Linked DNA regions of Homo sapiens: regions 2 and 3 are each linked to region 1. Evidence: promoter capture Hi-C in human tissues and cell types (Jung and others, 2019). All regions are on one chromosome and are shown on one strand. The core of a region is centred on a gene start or on the middle of the fragment in contact, and the rest is flanking DNA. Distances in the headings are between cores, read along the strand shown.

Evidence for each region. The method cuts DNA at HindIII sites, captures the fragments that hold promoters and counts their contacts. A contact is called where the count stands out against the background at its distance.
Region 2: a contact is called between a fragment that was not itself captured here and the fragment with the promoter of DOCK7 in region 1, in 2 of the 25 tissues and cell types used here (hippocampus and psoas muscle).
Region 3: a fragment that was not itself captured here is called in contact with the fragment with the promoter of DOCK7 in region 1 in 2 of the 25 tissues and cell types used here (bladder and hippocampus).

The regions. Positions count from the first base shown.
Region 1 is chr1:62,687,013-62,690,934 of GRCh38, reverse strand. DOCK7 (dedicator of cytokinesis 7) reads left to right here and starts at 2,549. Exons shown (of 50, transcript NM_001367561.1): 1 at 2,549-2,708. The coding sequence starts at 2,671. DOCK7-DT (DOCK7 divergent transcript) reads right to left here and starts at 2,453. Exons shown (of 2, transcript NR_185999.1): 1 at 2,283-2,453. RefSeq lists an enhancer at 1,143-1,437 and a silencer at 2,447-3,196. The HindIII fragment of the contact is 7,491 bases long and covers 1-3,922 here.
Region 2 is chr1:62,647,211-62,651,079 of GRCh38, reverse strand. It overlaps DOCK7 (dedicator of cytokinesis 7), which reads left to right. Exons shown (of 50, transcript NM_001367561.1): 5 at 2,536-2,665; 6 at 2,762-2,974; 7 at 3,304-3,389. Among named protein-coding and RNA genes, the nearest start is that of DOCK7, 39 kb to the left of the region's middle. The HindIII fragment of the contact is 3,976 bases long and covers 401-3,869 here.
Region 3 is chr1:62,738,749-62,742,710 of GRCh38, reverse strand. No RefSeq gene overlaps it. Among named protein-coding and RNA genes, the nearest start is that of ATG4C, 43 kb to the left of the region's middle. The HindIII fragment of the contact is 9,788 bases long and covers 1-3,962 here.

The sequences.
Region 1 (3,922 bases), core at 1,300-3,799:
CTGAGGGTGGTGGAGTGAGCTCCCCAGAAGTATAGTGGATTGACACCTGTGTGTGTGTGTGTGTGTGTGTGTGTGTGTGTGTGTGTGTAGGGGGTGGTATAGGGAGCATGGATGCTAGTCAGCTGAAGCAATTCCACTGTCACTCCCATTGCTGCGTTCCATATCTTTTCCTGACATTGAAACCCTGTGGGGCAGGGATACCAGCCAACATGACTTGGTCTGTGACTGCCAGCTCTTCCCCAGAGGTAGGGGGTCACCCTTCCTGCTTAGAGTGTTCCCCAGACTCTGAATTACCCTGCTTACAGCGTGATCCTGCTTGTCCTCTTCCTGCTCTAAATGTTTCCAGTAAGCTGCAGAGTACATGCAAAGTCCTTTCAGACACTTTGGCAACTAGTGAGTCATGTATACAAAGAACTATTCAAAGCAAAATGTGGCCAGTTCTCTAAGAGAGTAGTGAAAAGATGTTTGGAGAACAGAGATAAAGGCATGCAACATCTGGCTGGGAGTATGAGAGCAGACAACCAATTCAGGGACTATCAAACACCCAGGACAAGCTTAAGTATAGGATGAATAATGACAGTAACAGTGATAATAATAACAACAGCTGACACACATCGTACTTACCATGAACCAGGCCCTGTTCTAAGAACTTTATATTAATCAATTCAATAAATCTTCACAACACCCTTTCAAGTAGATATAATTATTTTCCTCCTTTTAGAGATGAAGTTAAGTAGCTTGCCTAAGGTTACAGAGTAAGAAAGTGGCAAAATAAGTCTGGGTTCCTATCACAGAGGGTCTTAAAAGCCAGGTACAGTGATAGCCTTGACTTACAGTCTGTGAGTACCTGGTTCATCTTTCCCAATGGACTCAAACATTCTGAGAGCAGGTCTGTGTCTAGTTCACCTTCGTGTTTTTTAGAACACCTAGGTGGGCTCTATACTTAGGTAGAAGCCAAATATCTGTCCTCTTTGAATAGACTATCTTTTCCTTTAGTAAACAAGCATCTGAAAACAGTGTGTTACTGGAGGGCGCCTTGGCAAGAGCCTGTGGTACTAGCTACTCCTCCAGAGGCTGAGGCAAGAGGATTGCTTGAGCCTAGGAGTTTTAGGCTGCAGTGCCCTATGCATTCCATGCTTGAGCAACACAGGGGGATTCTGTCTAAAATAAATAAATCAATAAATAAAAGCAGTGTGTTACTGCAATGAGCATTGTTATATAAATACACAGTCTTCCACAGAAGTTACAGCACTAGACAGGAAGTTATGGATCTGACTAATTGAGGCTTTCACCTCTGACTCAGTGTGTGACTCTGGCAAGTGACCTAATGGCTCCAAGCTACAGATTTTCCAATGGTAAAAGAGAGGAAAACAGGTATCCAACATATTCCACCAGGACATACTGAGAATATAATAATAACAATAAATAAATACACATTTTAAGTTCTTGCAATACTTAAGAGGAAAGGTACTACAAGAAACCAAGATATTTTTCTTAGTGTCACCATAATTTCAGTATCAACAGATATGCATTAGGAGCCAAATATTCTAGACATTATGGGATTACAACAGAACAGATGAAAACAAATCTCTGCTAGTCTCTGTTTTATAGGCTATTATGGACAAGGTCAGTTTCAGTGGTCAACACAGAGCTTATTTAACAGAACATCAAAATGGGGGTGAACGTTAGAGCTCACCTGGATTTTATATATATATATATATATATATATATATATATATATATATATATATATATGTATGTATGAGAGACAGAGAGAGATCCAAAAGGGGTTAATAATACGGAAACAACTGTCCTCAAAGAAAAGAACCGGCTCTGGGTTTGAGTCTCAGTGGAAGAGTTTACCATCTGTGCGACCTGGGGCCAGTCACTTAGCTTTTCCAAGCCAATTTCCTTCCCTCTAAAATAGTGATAGTAACGATCTACTTCAAAGCGCTCGTGCTTGAAAAACTTTAATCCAGTGGCTGGCTAAGCACCAGAAGTCAACTATTACTATTGTTATCGCTGCAGGAGCAAGGTATTTTCTGGCTCTTTCTCTATAAGAAAAACCACTGTTTCTCCAGTTAGGCTGCATTCATGAGGCCGAAGCAGAAACCCAAGTGCTTTAAAAAGCTCGGAGACCGGTGCTGCAGAAACATGAACCCAGTCATCCAGGGCTTTGGTTAAAGCACAGCCCCCTCGGCAAAGCCCACCTTTCATTTCCTTCCCTTCCATTTCGGGAAAGCCAAGCTCCCCCTACGCGTTCGGTTATCTTATTTTCTTGCCTCGCCAGGTCGCTGGCCTGTCTCTGGCTTCTCTCCGCGACCTCTCGGTCGTGCAGGCTCCGCGGCAGCGAAGCGGCTGGGGCTGGCGCCTCGCTTCCTCAGCGCTCCATTCTTCCCCTCGGCTCCCGCCGGCCGCAGCCGCCTTCCGCAGCCGGGGTTCCCGCCGGGATTGACGCGCTGGGGGAGGAGCGGTTTCTCGTTGCGCGCCTCTAAGGAACATTACGGCAGGGCTCGTTCCTGGCTCCGGCCGCCAGCCCCAGCCTCCCAGGTCCGGAGCCCGGACTGGCGGAGGCCGCGAGGGAGGGAGCACGAGCGAGGAGGCACGCGCCCGCCGGTCCGCACCCGGCCCGCCGCAGCCGCCGCCGCCGTCGCCGTCGCCGCAGCAGCCATGGCCGAGCGCCGCGCCTTCGCCCAGAAGATCAGCAGGTAAATATCCGGCGTGGGGCGCGCCGCCGCCGCCGCCCGAGAAAGAGCCGCGGAGTCCTCCCAGGCCTGGCCTAGGAGGCGGGTGGGTGTGGCGGGGCCGGCACCGGGATCCCGCGGCCTGGCTCGCGGCGGGGCGGAAGGGGTTCGGGGTGGCTGAGGGGGTAGCGGAGGCCTCGCGCCGCCCTCGAACCCCGGCCTTCAGCCCGCGCCCGCCGCTGAGCCTCGGCAGGGAGCGGAGAGGGCCGCGGACTCCAGCGCGCCCGCCTCCTCCTGCTCCTCGGCGGCCCGGGCCTGGACTTCTGCGGAGGTTTATGGAAGGGCGGTCGGCCGCTTCCCAAATTCTTTGTGTTCCCACCCCCGGGCTCGTCGGGGGCCGCCGCGGCGTTTCGCCCCCTCCCGTCTCTCCGCCCACCCCTCTTGGCCCCTAGAGGGTGCGGGGTCCGCCCTCCTCCACCCCAACAAAAGGAGAAACGCGCGGCGGCTCGGGGCGGGTGGGAGGCCGCCCCTCCTTCACGCGTCTCTCTCTTCCTGAGAAATCTGACAGGAACCCTCTTTGCACCCTCGGGCCAGGTTCAAAGTGGACTTGTGCGTCCAGGATTGAAAACGTGTGGACAGAATGAAAAGTTGAGAGCTGCGGGCTGCACCTTCGGTGTGCAGCTGCCGAATCCCTGACGGATTGCAGGCTGAAGCTTGTTCTGAGTTCGCCTGTGAATTTAACTGTGCGCCTGTGTTTCTCAGAGCACCCGAGAAGATGGATGATAGGCAGTGTTCTTTATACACTGACATCCTTTTATATGTTAGCAGTCTTGAAGTAAAGCAAGTGATTGCAGTCTTGAAGTAAAGCAAGTGATTGAGGTGGAGGTTTCAAAGCCTTTCACCTACTTGTGGTGGTTGGTTGCCACCTTTCTCCCACCCGCCAAATAAAAATTAAATGACAGAGGACTCTAATATTTGTAGAATTTCTTTGTGGAGTATACTTATGTATGAGACAGTAGACATTTTTGTTTTAATAAAATCATATTTGTGTGAATTATGATGTCCCAAGAAAAGAAGCATTCATATTAAATTACCTTTTTTTGTTTTGGGGCAGTTGTAGTTCTGTGGCTCTGAGTCTTTTTAGTTTGCTGACATTTCTTTAAAAATTTTGGGCCGGATGCAGTGGCTCAGGCCTGTAATCCCAGCAGTTTGGGAGGCCGAGGCAGGAGGATCGCTTG
Region 2 (3,869 bases), core at 1,139-3,638, 40 kb after region 1:
TTTTCTTAATCCAGTCTATCATTGATGGACATTTGGGTTGGTTCCAAGTCTTTGCTATTGTGAATAGCACCGCAGTAAACATACGTGTGCATGTGTCTTTATAGCAGCATGATTTATAATCCTTTGGGTATATACCCAGTAATGGGATGGCTGGGTCAAATAGTATTTCTAGTTCTAGATCCCTGAGGAATTGCCACACTGTCTTCCACAGTGGTTGAACTAGTTTACAGTCCCACCAACACTGTAAAAGTGTTCCTGTTTCTCCACATCCTCTCCAGCACCTGTTGTTTCCTGACTTTTTAATGATCGCCATTCTAACTGGTGTGAGATGGTGTCTCATTATGGTTTTGATTTGCATTTCTCTGATGGCCAGTGATGATGAGCATTTTTTCATGTGTCTGTTGGCTGCAGAAATGTCTTCTTTTGAGAAGTGTCTGTTCATATCGTTTGCCCACTTTTTGATAGGGTTGTTTGTTTTTTTCTTGTAAATTTGTTTGAGTTCTTTGTAGATTCTGGATATTAGCCCTTTGTCAGATGAGTAGATTGCAAAAATTTTCTCCCATTCTGTAGGTTGCCTGTTCACTCTGATGGTAGTTTCTTTTGCTGTGCAGAAGCTCTTTAGTTTAATTAGATCCCATTTGTCAATTTTGGAAGCCATGAAATTCTTCCACGATTCAGCACAGTATGATAAAGGGACACAAAAGTACTTCATTTATTTATTTATTCAGTTAGTGTTTATTGAGAGTCTTATATGTACCAGGCACTATACTAAAGACTGATGATACAGCAGTGAACGAAACCAACTCTCTACCCTCATGGAGTTTATATTCTAGTGGGAGATGAGATTGTCAATAGACAATAAACCAACACAGGTAAATATAGACTAAATATGATCTAGGTGAGTCAGTGGAGAAAAAAGTAGGATGAAGTGGATAGAGAGGGCCAAGAAGAGGGACAAATATTTTTATTTTATTATTTATTTTGGTTTCTATTTAGTTATTTACTTGGGACAAGGTCTCTCTCTGTTACCTTGAATTCCTGGCCTCAAGCCATCCTCTTACTTCAGCCTCCCCAAGTGTTGGGATTACAGGTGTGAGCCACCATGCTCGACCTTCTGTTTTATATAATTAATCAGAGGAAGCCTTACTGATAAGGTGATTTTGAGCAGAGACCTGAAGGAAGTGAGCCCTGTAAATATCTGGGGGAAGAATGTTATTAGGCAGAGGGAAGAGCAATACATGCTAAGGCTCCATATTGAAAGCATGCTAGAAATGTTCAAGGAACAAAGAGTAAAGAGGACAGTGTGGCTGGAACCGTAAATGAGAGTGAGAATGCTAAGAAACAAGTCAGAAAAATGGTGATGTGTGTGGGGTTGAATGGGTAATTATTAGAGCCTTATCATAGCAACAGACTAGAGGACAGGATGACATAGAAGAGAGTATTGATCATGAATCATTCTTTGCTTTCTTGAATTTCATATCGTCAATTTTTTTAGTATAGAATTCAGTAGCATTCTGATTTATCAGAGCAGCTTACGTATGCAGCTTTACAAATTAAGACACTTGAAACATTCCATTAAAGATTAAGATACCTGCTTCTAAGTAATAACTTTCATGTTACTATATTGAGTGTCTTTAGTTCTTTCAGAGAAAATACTTTCTTTTGCGATTATGCAGTGATGTTAATATCATGTAATTGCTATTTTAATAGCTTTAGCAACAAGACTGGATGTGAGTAATTCATATCAAATGTGATTCTTTACTGTCTCATAAATTGGGTGATAACAAGAACTATACCATCTTGTGAACATTATTGTTTTGCTTCAACTAAAATGTTCCTTCAGTTTGGCTCTATGAAGTGTTGAATCACGAACAATAATTGCTTTTTGATCAGCTCATATTTGATGTTCTTGGGTATTAGGTTGTTATTGGATTGTTAAGAAAGAAGCTTGCATTAATTTAAGAGTTGTTTTTAGCTAACTGTGTATATATGTAATGTTAATATATATATGTACACAGTGATGGTGTAGATTTTGCTGTTTTTCATTTTACAAGTCTGCAGCTTTAGGTTAAGATCTTTTATAGATAACGAGAGATAGCAAAAAATTTCTTGGCTACTTGAAATTTTAAGATTCAGTGCTTTATATGTATATAACCTTTTAAAATTTATATTATTCTTAATTCAGTGTATGTTTTCTATTTCTCATTTTATTCTTTAACCCAAGTTACTGGCTTCCCAAGTTTTCTTTTTACTGACCAATTCTCTGAATTGAAAGTACAGCTTAATTTATATACACATGATTGGCATGGAAAGAAGGAAAATATGATTTGCTTTTGGAAACTCATACTCTACTCCTTAGCTGGGTTAAAGGAACATTGAATATAAATTTTCTTTAACCTAAATTGCTAGAATAGATTCTTATTACATAAAGAAATAATGCAGAAAACACTTGGCTTATTACATAATGATGCCCAAAAAGTGAAAAAATTCCTAAGTTTGATAGTTGATATTTATTTAACTTTTTTTCTTTAATAGATATCATAAATTGGGAACAGGATTTAATCCCAATACATTAGATAAACAGAAAGAAAGGCAAAAAGGTTTGCCAAAACAAGTTTTTGAATCTGATGAAGCTCCAGATGGCAACAGCTACCAGGATGATCAAGTAATACTTTTATTCTTAAATAACTATAAGAAGTTATTTAAAAATAGTTGTCAATTTATTAATTAATATATTTATATTTAATGTTTTGCATGACAGGATGACCTTAAAAGACGTTCAATGTCAATAGATGATACCCCAAGGGGTAGCTGGGCCTGTAGTATCTTTGACTTGAAAAATTCACTTCCTGATGCTTTGCTTCCCAATTTACTTGATCGAACTCCAAATGAAGAAATAGACCGTCAGAATGATGACCAAAGGAAATCAAACCGTCACAAAGAACTTTTTGCTTTGCATCCATCACCAGATGAGGTATAGATGTTTGCATATAAAGAAGCAAATGATTATTAAAATTGATCTTTTGGGATTATGATTGATATATAGTATTACAAAATGTAGAGGATAAAGCAACTGAAACAGCTGTAATTTTTATAAATGAATACATTTTATACTAGTGAATTTACTATTCTTAATGAGTAAGTTATAATCAAATGACTTCTGTCTGTGGATAAATAGGTCATTCTTCTCTATGTTCTATTGTGAAGACTAAAAGTGTTAGATTAGTAAAGTAAGTTCTGAAAAAGATAAAGAGTTGGAATATGATAAGCATATTCATTTTGGTGTTGCTTTTCAATTTGTAGGAAGAACCAATAGAACGGCTTAGTGTTCCTGATATACCCAAAGAACATTTTGGTCAAAGACTTCTTGTAAAATGCTTATCACTCAAGTGAGTATTTATTTCTTTTACTTACAACTTTTATTTTCCAGGATAAAATTTTAGTAGTGATGTAACAAAATCTGAGTAGATTTTATAGTTGCATTTGTGTCCTTTTGAGAAGTATTGTTCTACATGTCATTTTAAATACTATTCAGCATTCAAACGTATGTATGAAGCTGAGCCTACTGTGCTAAGCCTAACGTATTTATGAAGCTAAGCCTACTGTGTAGCAAACATAAAGTCAACTTTTAAATTCTGTATATCATTTTAAGTGCTATTCAGCATTCAAACCTATGTATGAAGCTAATCCTGCTGTTCTAAGCCTAAGATATATATGAAGCTAAGTCTGCCATATAACAAATATAAAATCAAAGAGTTGATTTTACAGTAGGCTTTGATTTTTGAAGATTTTGAAATACGTATTTTTTCCTTCTTTAAAAAACTTAGATCTGATTTCTGCTAACATCATTGAGGTGTTATGTTTACATT
Region 3 (3,962 bases), core at 558-3,057, 53 kb before region 1:
CCCAGCACCATTTGTTGAAAAGGGTGTTCTTTCCCCACTTTATGATTTTGTTTGCTTTGTTGAATATCAGTTGGCTGTAAGTATTTGGGTTTATTTCTGGGTTCTCTATTCTGTTCCATTGGTCTACGTGCTTATTTTTATACCAGTACCATGCTGTTTTGGTGACAATGACCTTATATTATAGTTTGAAATCAGGTAGTGTGATGCCTCCAGATTTGCTCCTTTTGCTTAGTCTTGCTATGGCTATGGGGGCTCTTTTTTGGTTCCATATGAATTTTAGAATTTTTTTTCTAACTCTGTGAAGAATGATGTTGGTATTTTGATGGGGATTGTGTTGAATTTGTAGATTGCATTTGGCAGTATGGTCATTTTGACAATACTGATTCTACCCATCCATGAGCATGGGATGTGTTTCCATTTGTTTGTGTTGTCTACGATTTATTTCAACAGTGTTTTGTAGTTTTCCTTGTAGAGGTCTTTCAACTCCTTTATTAGGTATATTCCTAAGTTTTTTTTCGTTGTTGTTTTTTGTTTTTTGTTTTTTTGCAGCTATTGTAAAACGGGTTGATTTCTCGATTTGATTCTCAGCTTGGTCGCTGTTGGTGTATAGAAGAGCTACTGATTTGTGAATATTAATCTTGTATCTGGAAACTGCTGAATTCTTGTATCAGTTCTAGGAGCTTTCTGGAGGAGTCCTTAGGGTTCTCAAGGTAAACCATCATATCATCAGCAAACAGTGACAGTTTGACTTCCTTTTCACTGATTTGGGTGCCCTTTATTCTTTCTCTTGTCTGACTGCTCTGGCTAGGACTTCCAGTACTATGTTGAAGAGGAGTGGTGAGAATGGGCATCCTTGTCTTGTTCCCGTTCTCAAAGGGAATGTTTTCAACTTTGCCCATTCATTATTATGTTGGCTGTGGGTTTGTCATAGATGGCTTTTATTACATTAAGTTATGTCCCCTGTATGCCAATTTTGCTGAGAGTTTTAATTATAAAGCGATGCTGGATTTTGTTGAATGCTTTTTCTGCATCTATTGAGATGATCATGTGATTTTTGTTTTTACTTCTGTTTATGTGGTGTATCACATTTATTGACTCATGTATGTTAAACCATCCCTGCATCCCTGGTATGAAATCCACTTGATCATGGTGGATTATCTTTTTGATATATTGTTGGATTCGGTTAGCTAGAATTTTGTTAAGGATTTTAGCATCTATGTTCATTAAGGAAATTGGTCTGTAATTTTCTTTTTTGGTTGTATCCTTTCCTGGTTTTGGTATTAGGGTGATGCTGGCTTCATAGAATGAATTAGGAAGGGTTCCTTCTTTCCCTGTCTTGTGGAATAATGTCAAAAGGATTGGTACCATTTTTTCTTTGAATATCTGGTAGAATTCTGCTGTGAAACCGTCTGGTCCTGGACTTTTGTTGTTGGTAATTTTTAAATTACCATTTCAATCTCGCTGCTTGTTATTGGTCTGTTCAGAGTATCTAATTCTTCCTGATTTAAGCTAGGAGGGTTATCTTTTTCCAGTAATTTATCCATCTCTTCTAGGTTTTCTAGTGTATGTGTGTAAAGGTGTTCATAGAAGTTTTGAATGATCTTTTGTATTTCAGCGGTGTCAGTTGTAATATCTCCTGTTTTGTTTCTTAGTGAGGTTATTTGGATTTTCTCTCTTCTTTTCTTAGTTAATGTTGCTAATGGTCTATCAATTTTATTTGTCTTTTCAAAGAACCAACTTTCTGTTTCATTTATCTTTTGGTTTTTGTTGTTGTTGTTGTTTCAATTTCATTTAGTTCTGCTCCGATCTTGGCTATTTCCTTTTTTCTGCTGGGTTTGGGTTTGGTTTGTTTTTGTTTCTCTTCTTCCTTGAGGTGTGACCTTAGACCGTCTGTTTGTGCTCTTTCAGATTTTTTGATGTAGGCATTTAGGGCTATGAACTTTCCTCTTAACACCACCTTAGCTGGATCCCAGAGGTTTTGATAGGTTGTATCATTATTGTTGTTTAGTTTGAAGAATTTTTTAATTTTCATATTGATTTCATTTTTGACCCAATGCTCATTCAGGAGCAGGTTATTTAATTTCCACGTATTTGCATGGTATAGAAGATTCCTTTTGGAGTTGATCTCCAGTTTTATTCCACTGTGGTCTGAGAGAGTGCTTGATATAATTTCAATTTTCTTAAATGTATTGACGCCTATCATGTGGTCTATCTTTGAGAAAGTTCTATGTGCTGTTGAATAGAATGTGTATTCTGTGGTTGTTGGATGAAATGTTCTGTATATGTCTGTTAAGTCCATTGTTCCAAGGTATAGTTTAAATCCATTGTTTCTTTGTTGACTTTATGTCTTGATGACCTGTCTAGTGCTGTCAGTGGAGTACTGAAGTCCCCCACTATTATTGAGTTGCTGTCTATCTCATTTCTTGGGTCTATTAGTAATTGTTTTATAATTTTGGGAGTGCCAGTGTTAGGTGCATATATGTTTAGGATTGTGATATTTTCCTGTTGGACAAGGCCTTTTACCATTATATAATGTTCTTCTTTATCTCTTTTAACTGTAGTTGCTTTAAAGTTTGTTTTGTCTGATATATGAATACCTACCTCTGCTCATTTTTGGTATCCATTTGCACGAATGCCTTTTTCCACCCCTTTACTTTATGTGAGTCCTTATGTGTTAGGTGAGTCTCCTGAAGGCAGCAGATAGTTGGTTGGTGAGTTCTTTTCCATTCTGTAGTTCTGCATCTTTTAAGTGGAGCATTTAGGCCATTTACAGTCAATGTTAGCATTGAAATGTGAAGTACTGTTGCATTCATCATGCTCTTTGTTGCCTGTGTACTTTGGTTTTGTTTCTTGTTTTTGCTTTTTAACTTGTATTTTTGTTTTATAGGTCCTGTGTGATTTATGCTTTAAAGAGGTTCTGTTTTGATGTGTTTCCAGGATTTGTTTCAAAATTTAGAGCTCCTTTTAGCAGTTCTTGTAGGAGTGGCTTGGTAATGGTGAACTCTCTCAGCATTTGTTTGTCTGAAAATGACGGTATCTTTCCTCATATATGATGCTTAGTTTCACTGGATACAAAATTCATGGCTGATAATTGTTTTGTTTGAGGAGGCTGAAGATAGGGCAGAAAATTCTCCCACGAACAGACCTTCAGCTTTTCCAGTGGGGGTGTGTGTTCAGGAGAGGAGGGTCTCCCTTTCCCACTTCTGCAGTTGAGGCATTCACAGTATTTGGGGTGTCTCCCAGGTCCTGCAGCAGCAGTCTGCTTCTTTTAGAGGGTCTGTGGGTCCTCTCAGGATTGCTGGTTTGTTCTTGCAGTCAATCTGGAGCTAAAATTCACAGTGCAAGCCTCTGCATGCTGCTCTGTCTGGAGCTACAATCTAGTCCTGCCTGCCATCCGCCATGATCCCACAGTCTCCTTTGCCATTTTTTTAAAAACAATTTTGTAGAGATTAGGGCTTGCCGTCTTGCCCAGGCTGATTACTTAGATTGTTTAACATCAGGTAGCTCTAGGTTGACATTTAAGCTAGGCTTGGTAGAATACTCATTCCTTCTTAAAATATACTTTTTGCTTCCACTGTGATTCTGAACTCCATGTTCATTCTTGATCTTTTATTCATTTGGTCCCAGACCCTATACTGGACTCTGGGAATATAGCTGCAAGTATGATAGGAAGCCCAGCCCCCCAGGGAGTGTATATTCTAAAAAAGGAAGGCAGATTCTAAGCAAATAATTACAAATGCAAGGTATCACATTGTAACATCTTTTGTATTACAAAAGGTAATTATGGGACTGTATAGCAGGAGAGGATAACCTAAATTGTGAAATTAGGGAAATTGTCCTTGAGAAAGCGATATTTTAACCAAAGGAAAAATAGAAGTTAGCTCCATAAAGAGAAAAAGAAACAGAATACAAAGTAAAGAAGGCCGGGTGCAGTGGCTCATGCCTGTATCCCAGCACTTGGG